Linked DNA regions of Homo sapiens: all the other regions are linked to region 3. Evidence: promoter capture Hi-C in human tissues and cell types (Jung and others, 2019). All regions are on one chromosome and are shown on one strand. The core of a region is centred on a gene start or on the middle of the fragment in contact, and the rest is flanking DNA. Distances in the headings are between cores, read along the strand shown.

Evidence for each region. Contacts are between HindIII fragments. The study calls those that stand out against the background at their distance.
Region 1: a contact is called between a fragment that was not itself captured here and the fragment with the promoter of CHRNA5 in region 3, in 2 of the 25 tissues and cell types used here (dorsolateral prefrontal cortex and mesendoderm cells).
Region 2: a contact is called between a fragment that was not itself captured here and the fragment with the promoter of CHRNA5 in region 3, in 3 of the 25 tissues and cell types used here (dorsolateral prefrontal cortex, mesendoderm cells and thymus).
Region 4: a fragment that was not itself captured here is called in contact with the fragment with the promoter of CHRNA5 in region 3 in 1 of the 25 tissues and cell types used here (thymus).
Region 5: a fragment that was not itself captured here is called in contact with the fragment with the promoter of CHRNA5 in region 3 in 3 of the 25 tissues and cell types used here (adrenal gland, mesendoderm cells and thymus).
Region 6: a fragment that was not itself captured here is called in contact with the fragment with the promoter of CHRNA5 in region 3 in 6 of the 25 tissues and cell types used here (liver, lymphoblastoid cells, mesendoderm cells and 3 more).

The regions. Positions count from the first base shown.
Region 1 is chr15:78,713,425-78,716,124 of GRCh38, forward strand. All of the region lies in intron 1 of LOC105370913 (a long non-coding RNA gene), which reads right to left. Among named protein-coding and RNA genes, the nearest start is that of CHRNB4, 74 kb to the left of the region's middle. The HindIII fragment of the contact is 5,819 bases long and covers 1-2,700 here.
Region 2 is chr15:78,693,540-78,696,239 of GRCh38, forward strand. All of the region lies in intron 2 of LOC105370913 (a long non-coding RNA gene), which reads right to left. Among named protein-coding and RNA genes, the nearest start is that of CHRNB4, 54 kb to the left of the region's middle. The HindIII fragment of the contact is 8,299 bases long and covers 1-2,700 here.
Region 3 is chr15:78,564,184-78,566,904 of GRCh38, forward strand. CHRNA5 (cholinergic receptor nicotinic alpha 5 subunit) reads left to right here and starts at 1,337. Exons shown (of 6, transcript NM_000745.4): 1 at 1,337-1,642. The coding sequence starts at 1,537. RefSeq lists an enhancer at 535-724 and a silencer at 1,535-1,624. The HindIII fragment of the contact is 8,456 bases long and covers 1-2,721 here.
Region 4 is chr15:78,737,651-78,740,350 of GRCh38, forward strand. It overlaps the pseudogene DNM1P37. Among named protein-coding and RNA genes, the nearest start is that of ADAMTS7, 72 kb to the right of the region's middle. RefSeq lists an enhancer at 1,809-2,700. The HindIII fragment of the contact is 7,094 bases long and covers 1-2,700 here.
Region 5 is chr15:78,419,419-78,422,118 of GRCh38, forward strand. No RefSeq gene overlaps it. Among named protein-coding and RNA genes, the nearest start is that of IREB2, 17 kb to the right of the region's middle. The HindIII fragment of the contact is 6,971 bases long and covers 1-2,700 here.
Region 6 is chr15:78,396,232-78,398,931 of GRCh38, forward strand. No RefSeq gene overlaps it. Among named protein-coding and RNA genes, the nearest start is that of IREB2, 41 kb to the right of the region's middle. The HindIII fragment of the contact is 7,261 bases long and covers 1-2,700 here.

The DNA.
Region 1 (2,700 bases), core at 183-2,682, 150 kb after region 3:
TCAAAATCTTGTGAAATCAAAAGCATTTACATTCTTGTAGATATCTAAATTTTGTTTCCTAAGCCAAGTCCTGCACTGAAATTGTTTCATTTCTTCCTTTTTTTCCCCCTGGAGTTAATAATTGCTTCAAATTTTTTCCCTTCGTTTGCTTATATGTTTTTGTACCTATTAACTACCTTTCTTTCAGTTACTCCAACTGATCTATGAAATGCCTGGTAATAATTATCTAAAACTAAGATACACGAGCTACTCTATCAGCCCTGTTATTTTCCTGGAGGCTTCCCTCTCTCCCTTGCCCTCCATCCTTATGCTCCAAACTGGACTCAGCTCTCAGCCTGTGGCATGGCTGGCATTCTGACATGTCTCTGCACCATTGTGTGAATTTCCTGCTGCCTCTTCTGTGTGCATCTCCTGTTCCCTTGCCCCAGATCTTCTTTTTCCCTGGTTCACTGTCTCATTATGTTGCAGTACATCTTCCAGTGGCTTCCTGAAAAGCAGTGAATGGAAGCCAAGCTTTCTTACCTTCACATATTTTAGAATGTCATTGTTCTACCCCAACTCCTGATTAACAGTTTGGCTGGATATAATGCTCTAATTTGAAAGTAACTTCTCACATTGGGAAATACTGCTCTATTATTTTCTAGTTCCCAGTGTTGTTGGTAAGAAGTCAGTATCGTGCAGAATCTTGGCTCTTTACATGTGACCTGTCTTTTCTCTCTGGAAGATATTAGGATTTTCTATCTTTGGATTTCTCAATGATGTGCCTTGTTGTAGGTCTTTCCTCATTCACTTTGCTAGTCACTTGGTAGACTCTTTTGAATTAGAAAATTTTGTGCTTCTATTGCGGGAAGCCACGAGCAGGTTTGAGTGAGCTGGGTAATCACATTCTTTTCTTCCAAGGACAGAGGTATCAAGGCCCTGGGAACCTTATAAGTGGATGGGGAGAAAGGGGGCCTGAGGTGAATCCAACAAAGCTGCAGCATCCTCTGAGCTCATGTCCCAAGGCTAGGCTCTGCCTGAGGACAGGAGACATGGGTGAGACCCACTTCCTGCCCAGTCTCATAGTGGGGCTCAGGACACACATGGTCCAGGAGGTTCCCAGCCCCAGCTACATTTACATGCACCTACCTGCATGCAGCAATCAGTGAGCCACAGGACAACTTAGGGGAAGGGGCAGCTCCAGAGAGCAGGATAGGAGGGAGGTAAATGATTATGGGTGGGGAGTGGCCTTGTGAGGAAGGGGCAAAGTCAGGGCTCTGTGTGTGTGTGTGTGTGTGTGTGTGTGTGTGTGTGTTGTGTTGTGTATTGGGGGAAATGGGGAGAATATTTTGTCTGCCCCCTTTTCTGGCCACTGCACCCCTTTTTTCATGAATAGTTTTTCTTCCCATCATGGACTGAGTGTCTCTGTCTCCTCCAAATTCATATGTTGAAGCCCTAACCCTCTGCATGGCTGTATTTGCAGATGAGGCCTCTCAGGAAGTCATTAAGTTTGAATGAGGTCCTAAGGGTGGGGCCCTGATTCAGTAGGATTAGTGTCCTTATAAGACAAGACACCAGAGGGTGCACTCACTCTCTCTCTGCACAAATACAAAGAAGAGGTCACATGAGTGCACAATATGGCAGCCACCTACAGGCCAAGAGAAGAGGCCTCAGAATGAAACCTACCTTGCTGGCACTTTGGTCTTGGATTTCCCAGCCTCCAGAACCGTGACAAATAAATGTTTGCAGTTTAAGCCACCCATCTGTGGTATTTTGGCATGGCACCCTGAACTGACTAATACATCTCCCGGCCCTGCTTCAACCACATGACACTAGAGGGCTTGGCAGTTTTAGCGTCCCAGCTACCCAGCCAACCCAGACCAGACCAAGCAGAAACTTTCTTCTGGAATTTTTTTGTTTGTTTTTTTGAGACGGAGTCTCACACTGTCGCCCAGGCTGGAGTGCAATGGCACAATCTCAGCTCACTGCAACCTCCGCCTCCTGGGTTCAACTGATTCTCCTGCCTCAGCCTCCCGAGTACCTGGGATTACAGGCATCTGCCACCACGCCCGGCTATTTTTTGTATTTTTAGTAAAGACAAGGTTTCAACATGTTGGATAGGCTAGTCTGGAACTAGTGACCTCAGGTGATCCACCCGCCTTTGCTTCCCAAAGTGCTGGGATTACAGTCATGAGTCACCACACCGACCTATTTAAGCTGATTCTTTAAGGGTGAGTAGAAATTTTTTCCAGGTGAATAAAACCTTGAGATATTCCAAGCAGAGACCAGCAGGTGCAAAGACACAGGGATATACAGATGTTGAAATTTACCAACCACTGCTAGATTAGAAAAAACAAAAAGGAAACAATCAAAATAAAAATTTAAAATTAAAAATCACCTAAAAAAAAAACTAGGAATGGGCTTGGCCAGAGGTCACATTGCAATTGAGTTAACTATGACCATAGACACTCAGTAATGGATGGAAGTTTTAGGGAAAAACATAACATTCTCAGGTTGTTGCAGAGTATCTAGAACAATTTAGAAATACAGGCATTGAATTCTGGGAATAGTTACACTGTAGTGAAATCATGTCCTTCTCTGCATATGAAGCATATATGTGTCACACTGTTCAAAGTGCTGAAAATCAGACTCTTCTCAAGGAGCTCATGAGCAATCAAGGGAGATGGATGGGGGAGCAACTGATTATCATGTGACAAGTGA
Region 2 (2,700 bases), core at 33-2,532, 130 kb after region 3:
TACTATCTATGGCTGTGGGTCTTGACCTTGGATAGACTCTCCAGGGACTCTGAGTGATTGGTCTGGGTGCAGCCTGGCCATAGGGCATTCTGAAAGCTCCCCAGGCCATTCTAATATAGACCACTGGACAGTAAAGGGTTAGTTTGCTCAGCAGCCTTGGGTCACTCCAACCCTGCACATTCCAAAAAGAGGATTGGCCCTTGACCACATCTGGGGAGATAACTTTAGAATATTCTGCCTTTTATTTATTTATTTATTTTTTTTTTTGAGGTGGATTCTCACTCCATTGCCCAGGCTGGAGTGCAGCGGCACGATCTGGGCTCACTGCAAACTCTGCCTCCTGGGTTCAAGCGATTCTCCTGTCTCAGGTTCCCGAGTAGCTGGGATTGCAGGCACCCACCACCAGGCCTGGCTAATTTTTTTCTATTTTTAGTAGAGACGGGGTTTCGCCATGTTGGCCAGGCTAGTCTCGAACTCCTGACCTCAGTTGATCCACCTGCCTCGGCCTCCCAAAGTGTTGGGATTACAGGCGTGAGCCACCATGCCCACACCTGGCTGAATATTCTGCCTTGTAAGAATGTTTTTGTATGCCTGAGACTTTGGGCCTTGGTGTATCAATACGACTTCTTTAAGGACTGAAGCCTGAGTAGCTGGGGTCAGTCACCCAGGAGCTGCATGCCTGCATGACTGACCCCCCAAGAAAAACCTTGAACACTAAGGCTTGCCTGGGTGGGCTTCCCAGGTAGACAACACTTAGCATGTGCTGTCACACATCATTGCTGGGAGAATTAACCACTGTCTGTGCAACTCCACTGGGAAAGCATAACTGGAAGCTGGTGCCTGGTTTCTCCTAGACTTTGTCCCTTTTCCCTTTGCGGATTCTAATCTGTATCTTTTCCCTGTAATGAACCATGACCAAGGGTATAATGGCTTTTCTAAGTCCTTTGCATCCTTATAACAAATCATTGAGCCCATGGCTGGTCTTAGGGATCCTCTACACGACCACCAAGACCAGGAACACTGAGCTGCAGTATACACATTGCTGAGCCCCACTCCAGAGATTCTGATTCAGTGCACCTGGGGTGGGCTTAGCAGCCTGCCTGGTTAGTAAGTTCCCCAACACTCTGCTCTGCTCCCATTCAGTGAATACAGGCTGCATGGCTGCCTGTCCCCTCTCCCTACCCTCTAAAGGCCAGTCACCCAGTCCTCTCAACCATCTCCACAGTCTCATCTCTTCCTTCTTACCCTCCTCTTTGCTTCATCCCCCAGTTTCATTCCACTCGCCACACTGTAGCCAAATTAAAATCTGAGTCTGGCGTTTCCCTTTGGGAAGGTGCTCAGTAGCTACGTACATGTGTTCCAAACTCTTGGTGGCATTCAGGGTCTTTCTTGGCCTTTTCAGCCTCCCCTCTAACCACAACACATACTGTCCCTTCCAGCCTTGGGGAATTCCTTGCAGCCTCAGAATAGGAGGCCTCCTCCATCTGCAGTGCCCTTTGCCCCCCTCTCTACATCCTCTCCTAGTCTACTCACCAGCCTGGATTGCAATTGCTCATTTGCTTACCTGACCCCCCCTCTCTATGCCAGAACCTGGCAGCTTCATACAAGTCCCTTAATAACTATATGTTCAATGAATGAATGAATGAATGAATGAATGAATGAATGAATGAGAGTCTTGTTCATCTGAGTTCCCAAGGCCCAGCATGGTGCTTGGCACATGATAGGTTCAAATAAATGAGAGATGAATGAACAGCTTTTGCACCCCACCCTCAAGCCCACCTCCCTTCCTTTGTCTCCCCTCCTTTCTGTCATTCTCCTTTATCACTGAGGGTCCTTTTTTGGTTATACTCTGATTCTGCTACCCAGGGGCACTTCTGTGGAAAGCCTCAGCTGCCTCCTGATTGGTCCTTTTACCTCCAGCCCCAGCAGATAAGGAACTGAGAGCTTGCAGGGGGCAGCTGAGGAAGACTGCAAATCAGTGTCAAATATCTATGTAGAGCTGAACTTGATTTGAACCTCCCATAAGCCCAGGGAGGGTGGCAATATTCTCATCAATTTACAGATGAGGAAACTGAGGTTCAGAGAGGTTGAGTGTTTGCACATAGTAGCTTGATAGCAGAGATGGGATGAGAACACAGACCTTCAGCCATACATCTTTGTGCTCTTCCTTTTAGCCAGACACCAGGGGCCTTGAAGGCCACAAAAAAAGTATTTTGGCCTTTGGATAGTTCAGGGCTACATTCCCTTCGCCAGTCTTGTCTTCTTAAATTGCTACTTTTGATGCTGACTGATCTCCAGCCCCAGGTAAAATACACACAGTTTTGTCACTATGTCAAGCAGAAACAAGTTCAGTGCTGGGAAAGGAAGTCAAACTCTCCTTGGAAAAAGTCAGATGGGACGTACTACTTTTAGGCCCAGCTGGATGTGCAAGGAGAGAGCCCCCAGACCCCTGCCACAGGCGCCAGCTCCCTCACCAGCAGGGTGCACCAGTGTTTCTCCTTCTTCCCAGAGACCTTGCTCTGCCTGATAAAGCTCCAGCTCTTGGCAGGCACTCAAGGCCTTCACTATCTCACTGTGACTGTAGGTCAGACACATTCTAGATTGACAGAATATCGCCCATGGGGCTGAAACCCACAAAATACCTTCAGTGTTGGCCAGAGGGACTATGGGGTTTGGGTTGGCCCATCTCTTTGGGAACAG
Region 3 (2,721 bases), core at 87-2,586:
AGGTACTGTCTTTCATTTCTGTGCAGAAGTGCAATTAATTACTAATCTGGTTAACATCTTGTGCATCCCTTTTCTGTGGCCCCTTTGTTTAAGTCCTGTTTAAACAGATTGGCTCCATTGGATGTAATTTACATTTTTCCAGCTGTATTTGGACCTAAGAAGAGCATCTTCACTGAATTTTGCTGTTTAGATTCTTTGCAACCAGGTTTAGTTTTTCACAGATTTACTAGTCTGGAGGGTGGAGTGAAATTTTTGCTCACAATGAGTCTTAGAGGTGTCACCTCCATAAAGCGTTCTGTGAAGAGTCAGCGGCTCCCTCTGCCACTGAAGTTTAAAGATAATTCGCCTGAATCCCTTCAGCCAAATGAAGCTTTCTAATTATGGACAGAGAGGATGAAATATAGGGTCTGGAGGGATTTGAGACGGGTTTCCAGCAGTCGGCACCAATCTCCACCAGAGGTGCTAAGTGTCTGTAGCAGATAGTCACTAATATTTACAAATGTTAATTGATGACAACACGGAGGGCGATGCCCACGTTTGAGGCGACTGCATATCATTTCCGGGGATGGCTTGAGTGAGTGTCAGAGCTGTACCTTCCCGAGTCCTCTAGTTTATCTGCCTCGGTTCCTCGCTTCCAGACGAGGAAACAGGCCCAGAGAGGAAAGTGACTTGCCCAGGGTTGTCTCGCTGGTCCACAACACAGGTCTCCTGGTGGGGACCCCTTGGCTGACACGACAGCCCCAGGAGGCAGTCAAGCTGCGACTGGTACTTCCTGGTGAGAAAGACTTGAGTGGGCAGCGGGGCCCATGGAGAGCGCTGCAGCCTGGAGCAAGTCCCCCACCACTGTGATTCTGCCCCAGCCTCCAGCTTGTTTCTTTCTGATCACAACTCGGAATTACTTTATTTACATTTTCTATCAGCTGGGAGCAATCTGTCCCTCTGCTTCCCCTTTTGGTGCTGAGCACAGAGCAGACATCAATGAATAGCTGTTATCTTAAGGTGTGCAGTGACTAGGCCAAGGACATCCGGTGGTTAGAGAAGGACGCGCCTGCGATGCCAGCCTCAAGTCTTTGCCTTCCTGGAACTCTGCTCCAGGGTCGCACCTGCCCAAAGGAAGGCCTGGAGGCGGGGGCCAGGGCGATGGGGCTGGGCCAGGCGTGGAAAAAGAGGAGCTAGGAGCAGACAGGGTTGGACCAGAGGCGGGGCGGGGTGGGGAAAGGGTTGGTGGGGATCGGAGGCGGGGCTATGAATAGACCGGACTGGGCCAAAAGGAACAAGGCGAGGATTGGGCGGGGCCAGAGGGAAATAGGGGCGGGGCTAGGCGCCGGGAGCTTCCACATGCGTCCCGAGCCCGCCAGAAGCTGCTAGGCTGAGGCTGCTGTCCCGGCGGGAGCTGTGGCGCGGAGCGGCCCCTCTGCTGCGTCTGCCCTCGTTTTGTCTCACGACTCACACTCAGTGCTCCATTCCCCAAGAGTTCGCGTTCCCCGCGCGGCGGTCGAGAGGCGGCTGCCCGCGGTCCCGCGCGGGCGCGGGGCGATGGCGGCGCGGGGGTCAGGGCCCCGCGCGCTCCGCCTGCTGCTCTTGGTCCAGCTGGTCGCGGGGCGCTGCGGTCTAGCGGGCGCGGCGGGCGGCGCGCAGAGAGGTAAGCCCGGGCTGCAGAGGGGCGGGGCGGGAGCTGGCCCGGACTCCACATCGCGGTGCCCAGGAAGCCGCCAGGCGACGGCCGCCGGAAAACCTGGTTGCGAGGGGAGGTGGGTTTTTTTCTCCTGGGGGCTTGGAGTGAGGTTTCAGTTTAAATGTCCAGATTTGCTCATTTAAATGCAGAGAAAGGGCTACTTGGGTGGGTTTTCTTTGTTGTTCCACGACCTGCATCGCTGGAGACTACGAGGCTGGCTTAGCGTATACTTCCACACAACTTTTTCAGTAAAAGATGCCACTCTTGTCCAGCAGGGCTTTCCTGTCCTGGTGGCAGCCAAGCTTCCCATTTTGTTGCCCATTTACGGGATATAGAGACTCTGGGGTTCATTCTAGGGGTTGGGACTTATCTTCCACCTCCTGCCCGCCGCCTCTTCCTCCATCCCTGTCCCCTACCCACCGCAGCATTTGAAAACCTTTCCTTTCGCCGGAGATGAAAGGTGTGTGTTGTAGCAGGCTAGGCGGCCAACTTCCCTGGCTTCGGGGCTAATCGTTTGCATCCAGAGTTCCTCACTAGCTCCTTAGAGCACAGCTTTTTTCAGCCTGCTGTTTTTCAAGAGGTTTTGGACAGGAATGGAAACAACAAAAGAAATCGCGTAGTCCTACATGTTTCAAGTGCTTGGGAAAGTTTTAGAGTCAGTTCTCTCAATACCTTGAAGAAAAACACGTTTGTGGAGCAGCTATGGTGTGATCTAAACGTAGAAAAGCTAAGCATCCGTTAAGCAAGATATGATTACAGAAGTTCACTACGTCTGTATTTCAGGTTTTATGAGTGAGTTTCTTAAATAGTGGAAATATTGCAAGAACCTTTTCTTGCCTTTCCTTTGTTAAGGTTTTTAATCTATGGCTCCTGATTTTAGGAAGTAATAAGACTAGAATAATTCATTGCAGGATGTATTGCTTAGTGTAGACCGAAGAGAAATAAGATGGAGGGTGATTTAAACAAATGAAGAAAATCCTGGGCAGAGAGAGTTAAACAGAAAGAAAGGAATGTGATTTTGGAGCCAGGCAAACCTGTATTCAAAT
Region 4 (2,700 bases), core at 90-2,589, 170 kb after region 3:
GGCCCCCCTTCCCCAGTGTACACATAGTATCTGTGTAACATTTTGTATATTCCGGGGGGTAGGGCCACCCCTTGTATCATACCTACCAGAGGCTGGAGCTGGCATATGAGGAGGAGGTTCTAATCATTATTTACGGCTGGGAAACTTATTTATTGATAGCATAGGACAGAGGAAGGAGGAGGGGATGGGGTCCTGGCTGCCTTGGTGATGTGACTCCTGTTTATTTTGCTTTCCATTTTGGAATAAATGGATTTAGCCATACTGCTCAGCCTGGTGGGTTCCCATTTCCCTCACTGGGTCCTGGAGTTTGCGCCACTGAATGAAGAGCCCCAGAGTGAGCATGTCCAGCTGGGCTGTTGGGGACCTTCCAGGCCTGTTACCTGTATGCTGCCTGGTGACACCTGGTAGATTGCATGGGGATTGCTATGGCGCCTATGGGGCACAGTCCGGCCCTGACAGCCAACAGGCTCAGAAGCCTGATCTAGCGGTGGCCGGGAAGGCAGATACGAGCACCCAAGGCCACTGACTTCCATTCACCCCAGTCGTCTTCGGTTCCGTCCCCTTGCCTCCCTCTCCTGTCTGCACAGGGTGGCCTGTTCTGTCTGGCCCTCTAGAGTGTCAGCTGCCCCGCAGGCTCCTCCAGGCTGAGTTCATGGTCCTGCCCCCTAGTGGCCAGAGCCAGCTTCACAGGATAAGAGCCAGCTAAGCTCCAGGGGCTTTCCAGGAAGTGTCCCTTGGAAAGGGTGTGGCCTTTTCACCGCTCCCAACAGCACCCTAGAAATGGCTTGGCTTTTTCCCTCCCCTCAGCTCCACAGAGAACACAGCCAGCAGAGGACACATTCCCCATCATCCAGAAATGGGTTTGATTCTCAGCCAAGGGACACCAGGGCTGGTAGAGACTGTCAGGCCACACAGCTGCCTGCACAGCACCCCCATGCTTGGTGGGGGGTGGGAGGGATGGCGGGGGGTGGGACGGTGGGGGGGTGGGACGGATGGCGGGGGCTGGCTGTCCACAGGCTGGGCATGACAGGCAGGCTCACTGGAGGTGGCACACTTTGGAGGGGCAGTGTCAGGGGAGACCTTCCTTTTGTTGGGCCACAAGACTCCACAAGGACAGCACGGTGACTGATTCCCAGTGCTAGAGGCGAGGTGGTCGGCCATATGTAGGTGTGTGTGTGTGTATATATATATATATATATGTATATTTATATATATATTTATATATATGTATATTTATATATATATTTATATTTATATATATATGAGTATTTATAGCTATTTATAGAACAAGGCAGGGGCATACCACAGAGGGGCCACAAGTTTTCAGCAATGGTCACACCTGGATGTGTCAGCTCACCACTACAACAGACTAAGTCACAGATGAAGGGGGCTGGCTTTGGGGCTGGGGAGCCACTGTCAAGTCACAGGACACCCGCCCAGGCAGGCTTGGAAAGGGAGGTCTCTGAGAAGAGGAGGATCTGTTTAGAGGTTGGAGTGGGGCTGGAGCTCTCAGGATGGGATGGACTTGCCTAACCCAATCAGTTGGCAGTTGGAGAAAAGCAGAGAGAAAATAGGAGAGAGAATAGCAAGCAGAGAGCTGGTGATGCAAGCGCAGAGCACGGGCATGTCGCAGCAGCTGTGGGAGGGCCGGGGAGGGGAGCGCGCAGGTGCGGGTGTAGCAAAGGTTCCTGGAAAAGAGGGGCTGGAAGGGAAAGGGGAGGAAGATGGAGGGAGAAGCCAGAGCTTCACAGGTAGTGCCTGGGGGCTGCGGCAGCCCTCCCCAGCTCACACACACTGGCCTCTCCCATGGCACCCAGGCAGTGCACCCACACTTCAGACCAATGCTCAGCCGCTTTGGGCTTCTCTCTTCTCTGGTCACCCTGCCTTCCAACCCACTGGCCCAGGGCCACCTCTTGCTTGGGGAGCCCCACCCAACAGCCACCTGGCCTGATAAGGAACACTGCTTGAACCAAAATGGTGAAGCTATAAGGGATGGATGGCTGGAGTGAGTACCAGAGGCCCCTCTGGTGGTGAGAAAGTCCAGGGTCCTCTGAAGGGACCCTGGGGAAGGCAGGGAGGGCAGGTAGCCGGATGCCACTGGCCATAGACTTATAAGTCTAAGAGGGGAGCCTCAGCTGGTTGCGGGGTGAGGGGGGCTGCAAGTTTCATAGCTGAGGCTGGGTCCTTCCTGCTGGGAAAAGCAGAAGAGGGAGAGTCCATGGCAGGAGAGGCAGGTGGGCTCGCTAGGCGGAGCTCAGCTGGGCCAGCAGGCACTGTGGTCCCCTTGGCTGAATAGCACAGGCGACCCCTAGGAGCAACAGGCCAAGGTGCGTGAGCCTGCTGGTCGGCGATAGTGCTTCAGTGGGGGCCAGGGACCCTGCCTTCAGTCACACGCTAGCAGCTGCGGTGGTACCTGGCAGGGAGGGAAGGGGGCTGTGTGTCCCTGCCTGGCCTGTGAAGTGTGTTGTGGGATGACCGTGTGTATGGGACTCTTAAGGTTTTATCCTAGATCACCAGGGATTGCCAACAGATAGAGGAGGTGGGACCCTGACTATCACCCCTCCTCTGCAGTGGGTTTGACTCTTGACACTCCCAGGCTGGGATCTGGATACCCTGACCTGGCAGCATGACTCAGACTGCACGACAGGTACAGCGTGCCCAGGATGACGTTCCTAGACCTCTAGCTGCCTCAGAGTCCAG
Region 5 (2,700 bases), core at 66-2,565, 140 kb before region 3:
AGGGAATGGGTACTGCTGATTAGTTGGGGATGAAATTACAAGGGTGTGGAAAGCAGTCCTCATGCACAGAGCCCGCCTCTGGGTGGGGCCACAGGACCAGTTGAGTCATGAGTCACGAGTCCAGGTAGGGTCAGTCTGGAAAACATCTCAAAAAAATCTAATCTTAGGTTCTACAATAGTGATGTTATCTATAGGAGCAATTAGGAAAGTCACAAGTCTTGTGACCTCTGGCCACGTGACCCCTGAGCATTACTGCTCATGTTTTAGGGATTATAGAAGTTATCCCTACATTCTAGCAGAGTTCAAGCCCCTCCCATATTCTAATGGCTTTTTTAAAAAATTTATTATTATTATTATTATTTTTTGAGACAGAATCTTGCTCTTTTGCTCAGGCTGTAGTACAGTGGCACAATCTCGGCTCACTGCAACCTCCAACTACCTAGTTCAAGCGATTCTCCTGCCTCAACCTACTTGAGTAGCTGGGATTACAGGCATGTGCCACCATGCCCAGCTAATTTTTGTATTTTCAGTACAGATGGGGTTTCACCATGTTGGCCAGGCTAGTCTTGAACTCCTGACCCCAAGTAATCTGCCCACCTCCCCCCCTTCCAAAGTGATGGGATTACAGATGTGAGCCACTGCACCTAGCCTCTTATGGCTTTTCATTAGTCTGACATAGGCTGTTGTCAGTCCCTGAGCGAGGAGGGAGTTAGTTTTAGGAAGGGACTATTATCATCTTTGCTTTCAAGTTAAACTATGAATTCTTCCCAAGGTTAACTTGACTTATACCCAGGAATGACCAAGAACAGCTTGGAAGTCAGAAGCAAGATGGAGTCAACTATGTCAGATTTCTCTTACTGTCATAATTTTCCAAAGGCAGTTTTAAAACTAAGAGAGAAAAAGCACTAGGTTATGTGACATTTGACCCAGGAATGAGAAACCTTCCCTAGGTCTCTCCACCGCATGGACTGGAGGAGCCTCAGCTTGTCTGGCTTCTGCTTTTTGCTGCTGCTTGAGCAATTTTCCACCATCCCTCCTGCCAACACCATAGATACACCCTCAATGGGGAAAAACCTTTTTAACTTGAAAATTTAAGCGCTCACTTAACGGAAGTCACAGAGGTGAATATGACCAGAATCAATAGAGGTATCTTTGCCTCTGATGTTTCCCACTCCAGGTTCAGAGAGACAAGTTGCGTCTCTCTTTGAGCTTGCCTGCAGGATCACTTGATTCATGCTTTTTCTCCCATAAATATTTATTGAACACCTACCATGTGCCAATTCTAGGGGCTGGGGATACAGCAGTGAACAAAACAACCAAGTCCCTGCCTCATGGAACCTATGTTCTAGTAGGAAATAGACAACAAACAAATGAGTTAAATGTGCAGCATATTAGACCATGATAATGAGATGGGATGGTTCCCTTGACCTTGACCCCCTTCGTGGGCAGGAACTGGAGTGGCTTGTTTCACTCAGCCCACCGCTGGCCACTCCTCATGAGAGGGAGCGTGCAAGCGAGTACAGGAACCGGAGGGAACGAATGCTGGAACCGGCCAGTCACTTCTCTCTGGTGAGAGCAGGCTCTGTGCATCCCTGCAGCAGTGTCCAAGCCCCTGCCCTCTCAGCACCCAGGTTCTTGTCCAGCATCCAGAAAGAATCAGGTCACAAGAACGGGTTCAAGGGTAGTGTATGCAGAGGATTTTATTGGGTGATGGCTCTCAGCAACATGGGAGCTGGAAAGGGGATTGTGTGGGAAGAAGGTGATCTTTCCCTGAAGCCGCACTGTCTGAAGTTAGCTGCATCTATCCATAGTCTCCAACGCTCAGTTGCTGCTTCTCTGCTCACTGCTCAGCCTCTTGTATCCCCAACTCCCAGCAGCCTGCATCCCCACCGGTCAGCCGCTTGTGTTGCTTTGCCAGCTGAAGTCTTTTTATGGGCACGGGAGAGGAGCAGGGCAGACCAAACAAGCAACATTTTCATGGAAAAAAAGGGGGTCAGCTGTTTTCACTTAGGGCCATGGCTCCAGGCTTAAGGGTGGAGTTTAGCTGGGCGCTCAGCCATTCTGTATCAATAAGTGCTACGGAGAGGAATGAAAAGAATGAGTATAAGGGGTGCTGGGGTTTGCCATATATGTTGGGTGTTCAGGAAGACCTCACCGAGCTGGGCAAATTGGAGCAGAGACCCAGTGAAAGTGAAGGAGCAATCTATGTGGCTATCTAGGAGAAGGCACCTGAAAATGCAGAGGCCTAAAGAAGAGATTGTGCTTGGTGTTAAAGGAACAGCAAAGAGCAAGGAATGAGACTAATGCAGAGTGAGCAAAGGATGTAGGAGATGAGGCCAAAGAGGAGGAGTCAGATCAGGACCCTGGAGGCCATCGTGAGGACTTTGAATTTTACACTGACTAAGATGGGAGCCAGTGTGGAGTTCTGAGCAAAGAATGACATGAGCTGGCTTCCACTTTAACAGCATCCTCTGGCTGTTGTGCTGAGACTAGTTAGGAGGCTGCTGTCATCATCCAGAGCAGAGATGATAGTGGCCTGAACCAGGATGGATTGTGTGTGTGTGTGTGTGTGTGTGTGTGTGTGTGTATATATGTGTGTGTGTGTGTGTGTGTGTGTGCTTTTTAGAGATAGGGTCTTGCTCTGTCACCCAGGCTGAAGTGCAGTGGTACAGTCATAACACATTACAGCCTTCAACTCCC
Region 6 (2,700 bases), core at 185-2,684, 170 kb before region 3:
ACTGCAGGCATGCACCACCACACCTGGCTAATTTTTGCATTTTTAGTGGAGATGGGGTTTCGTCATGTTGGCCAGCCTGGTCTCGAACTCCCGACCTCAAGTGATCCACCTGCCTTGGCCCCTCAAACTGCTGGAATTACAGGTGTGAACTACTGTGCCCGGCCCAAATCACTCATTTATTGTCTGAAGAGCTGAGCCGTGTGAAGCCCAGCCCCTTGGAGGGTGCTGGGGTTGGATGGGGGTAACCAGTAAGACCCCTGCGTACTGGACACTGTGCTGGGTGCTTCACCACATCCTCTCACTTTCTCCCTGGACTGTCCCTAGGAGTGAGGTGATGGGGACTGTGTTCCTTATTTTACAGATGAGGCAACTGTGGCTCAGAGAGGTTAAATCACTTGCCCAGGGTCACACAGCTAGAAAGTGATGGAGTTGTGATTCAAACCCAGGCCAGTCTGATACCAAGCCTTTGGCCTTCCCGTGTGCTAGACTCCGGGAGGACGACCTAGAATAGTTGAAGCAAGAGCTGTCATATAGGTGAGAAAGAACTTTGGGAGCTATAGCAAGGAAGAGAAAGGAAATTGCATCTTTGAGGCCAAAGATTATTAGTCACAGAGGTATGGCTACCAGGCCCTCGAGCTGTCACTTACTTGCCACAAGCAGGGCCCTGAAAAGCCTGTTTTTTTCTGCTCTGACTTCAAACACAGATTCTCCAAGCAAGAAAGGCTAGCTTGTGAGACCAAGTTTCACAGAGATGGAGCTTGCAGGGAAAGGTCAGAGGAATTGTCCCCGGGTTCCTCAGAGGAGGCAGACGAGTTCGGAGTAGTTAGCAATAAACATATCAGCCCCGGCCCCTAGAGGGCACTGGCCAGAGGGAGCCTCAAGGGAGCAAGCAGGGCTGGGGCATGGAAGCCAGCCAGAGTCCAGCCTAGCTTTGGGCCGGGCCCAGAAACCAGTTCTGTTAAACAAAGCATTACACAACCATCTCATTAACTGCATCAATCCAGAAGGTCAAACTAACTCACTCCAGCGTCTGCGGGGCTCTGTTGGGGTGGGTGGGAGAGGACAGCCTCCTGAATTCCAGGCACTTGGGTCCACGTTGGTTTAATTAGCTCCATGATGTCCGCTTCCCTTGGGCACAGCCTTGCATGCCAGGGCCCTGACAGCTGCCTGGTGCCCCTAGAGGAGCCAGAAAAAGAGGGGGGTGCCTAGGGCAGGAGTGAACCCCTCACCCAGGCCAGCCAGGGCAGGAAGTCTGGGGTTGGCAGAGCAGTGATACAAAGACCAAGGCTGGAGATACCATGTTAGGGCTCAGGCTGAAAGGACCCGGAGAAGCTGTGGGTGAGAAAATGAGGCTGGCAAGTTTGCAGAGTGTGAAGCAAGCCAGGGCAACAGGTTCAAGACAGAGGCCAAAAGGAACACAAAGGTGTCATTGGCCAAGTTGGGGCATTGTCAGTTATAGATATGACAGACTGGAGGTACTCAGCAGGACTGAACTGTGGCAAGTGGTCAGGACTAGAGAACTCGAAGAAAGTCACAGAACTCAAGGAATAATAATAAAGGTAATGGAAAGGTCGGGAAACTAAAACAATTGTTCTCAAAGTGTAGTCCCTAGAGTAGCGGCATTAGTATCACCTGAGAACTTCTTAGAAATGCAAAATATTGGAATCTACCCTAGGCCTTCAAAATCAGACTGGGAAAGGCCCAGCAATCTGTGTTTTAATAAGACCTGAGGGTCATTCTGATGCAGGATGAAGCTTGAGAACCACTAGGCTACTCAGTGTGGTTGGTCCATGGACCAGCACCATCAGATGAAATGGCGCTGAGAGTTTGTTACAAATGCAGACTCTCAGGCCTGGCCCCAGACCTACTGAGTCTGCAGTTTAACAGGATCCCTGGGGCATCCCACGTACCTTTTAATTTGACAAGAGCTACACCTGAGCTCCACTGACCTGGGATTCTTTGGTCTGGGTGTGAATGAGTCTGTGTCTAAGTCCAGGGACAAATAGACACAGATGGCAATGGGGAAGTAGGCCACCCAGTTCCAGGCATAGGCAAAGGCTGTCCTCAGCTCTTCACGAATTTAGACTGCTGCCAGAAAATGTCACCAAGAAAAATAATGGCTTCACTGAGCCTGCAAATGTGCTCAACCTAGACATTGTGCAGAAAGCAGATTGCAAAGGCAACAAGACCAACAGCCCGACAGTGCTATTCGTATTCCATGGGAGACAGCTGGAGCCCCTGAGATGCAGGCGGGCTCCCAACCCTCTGTGATTGTGATGTGGAGATGATTTAAGAAGAAGCAGCCGAGGGTGGCTGTAAGCAAGTGACGCTCCTGAGAAGACAAAGCTGCAGAGATAGGAGGCTGGACCTGTCACCGCTGCCCAGAATGACCCAGGATTCTCATTCTTTCCAGGGAAACCAGTGGGCAACATTGACGACTGACAGGAGGGGACCTTGCCTCCAAGGCTCCAAGGCCGGATAAGAATGGCTTTACCTTCCTGACTCCAGAAAGAACCGCCCTTTTTCCCCACCTCCCTGATGGCTTCCTGGTGCTTGTGATTCTACCAGACTAGCTTTTCCTTTCCCCCTAATAATAGCTGCTAATTAATATTTAGCGAGGGTTTACCAAGCGCCGGGCTCTGAGCTAAGTACCTTGTATGTACTTTTTTCATTTAATCCTCTCAACAGTTCTACTAGGAA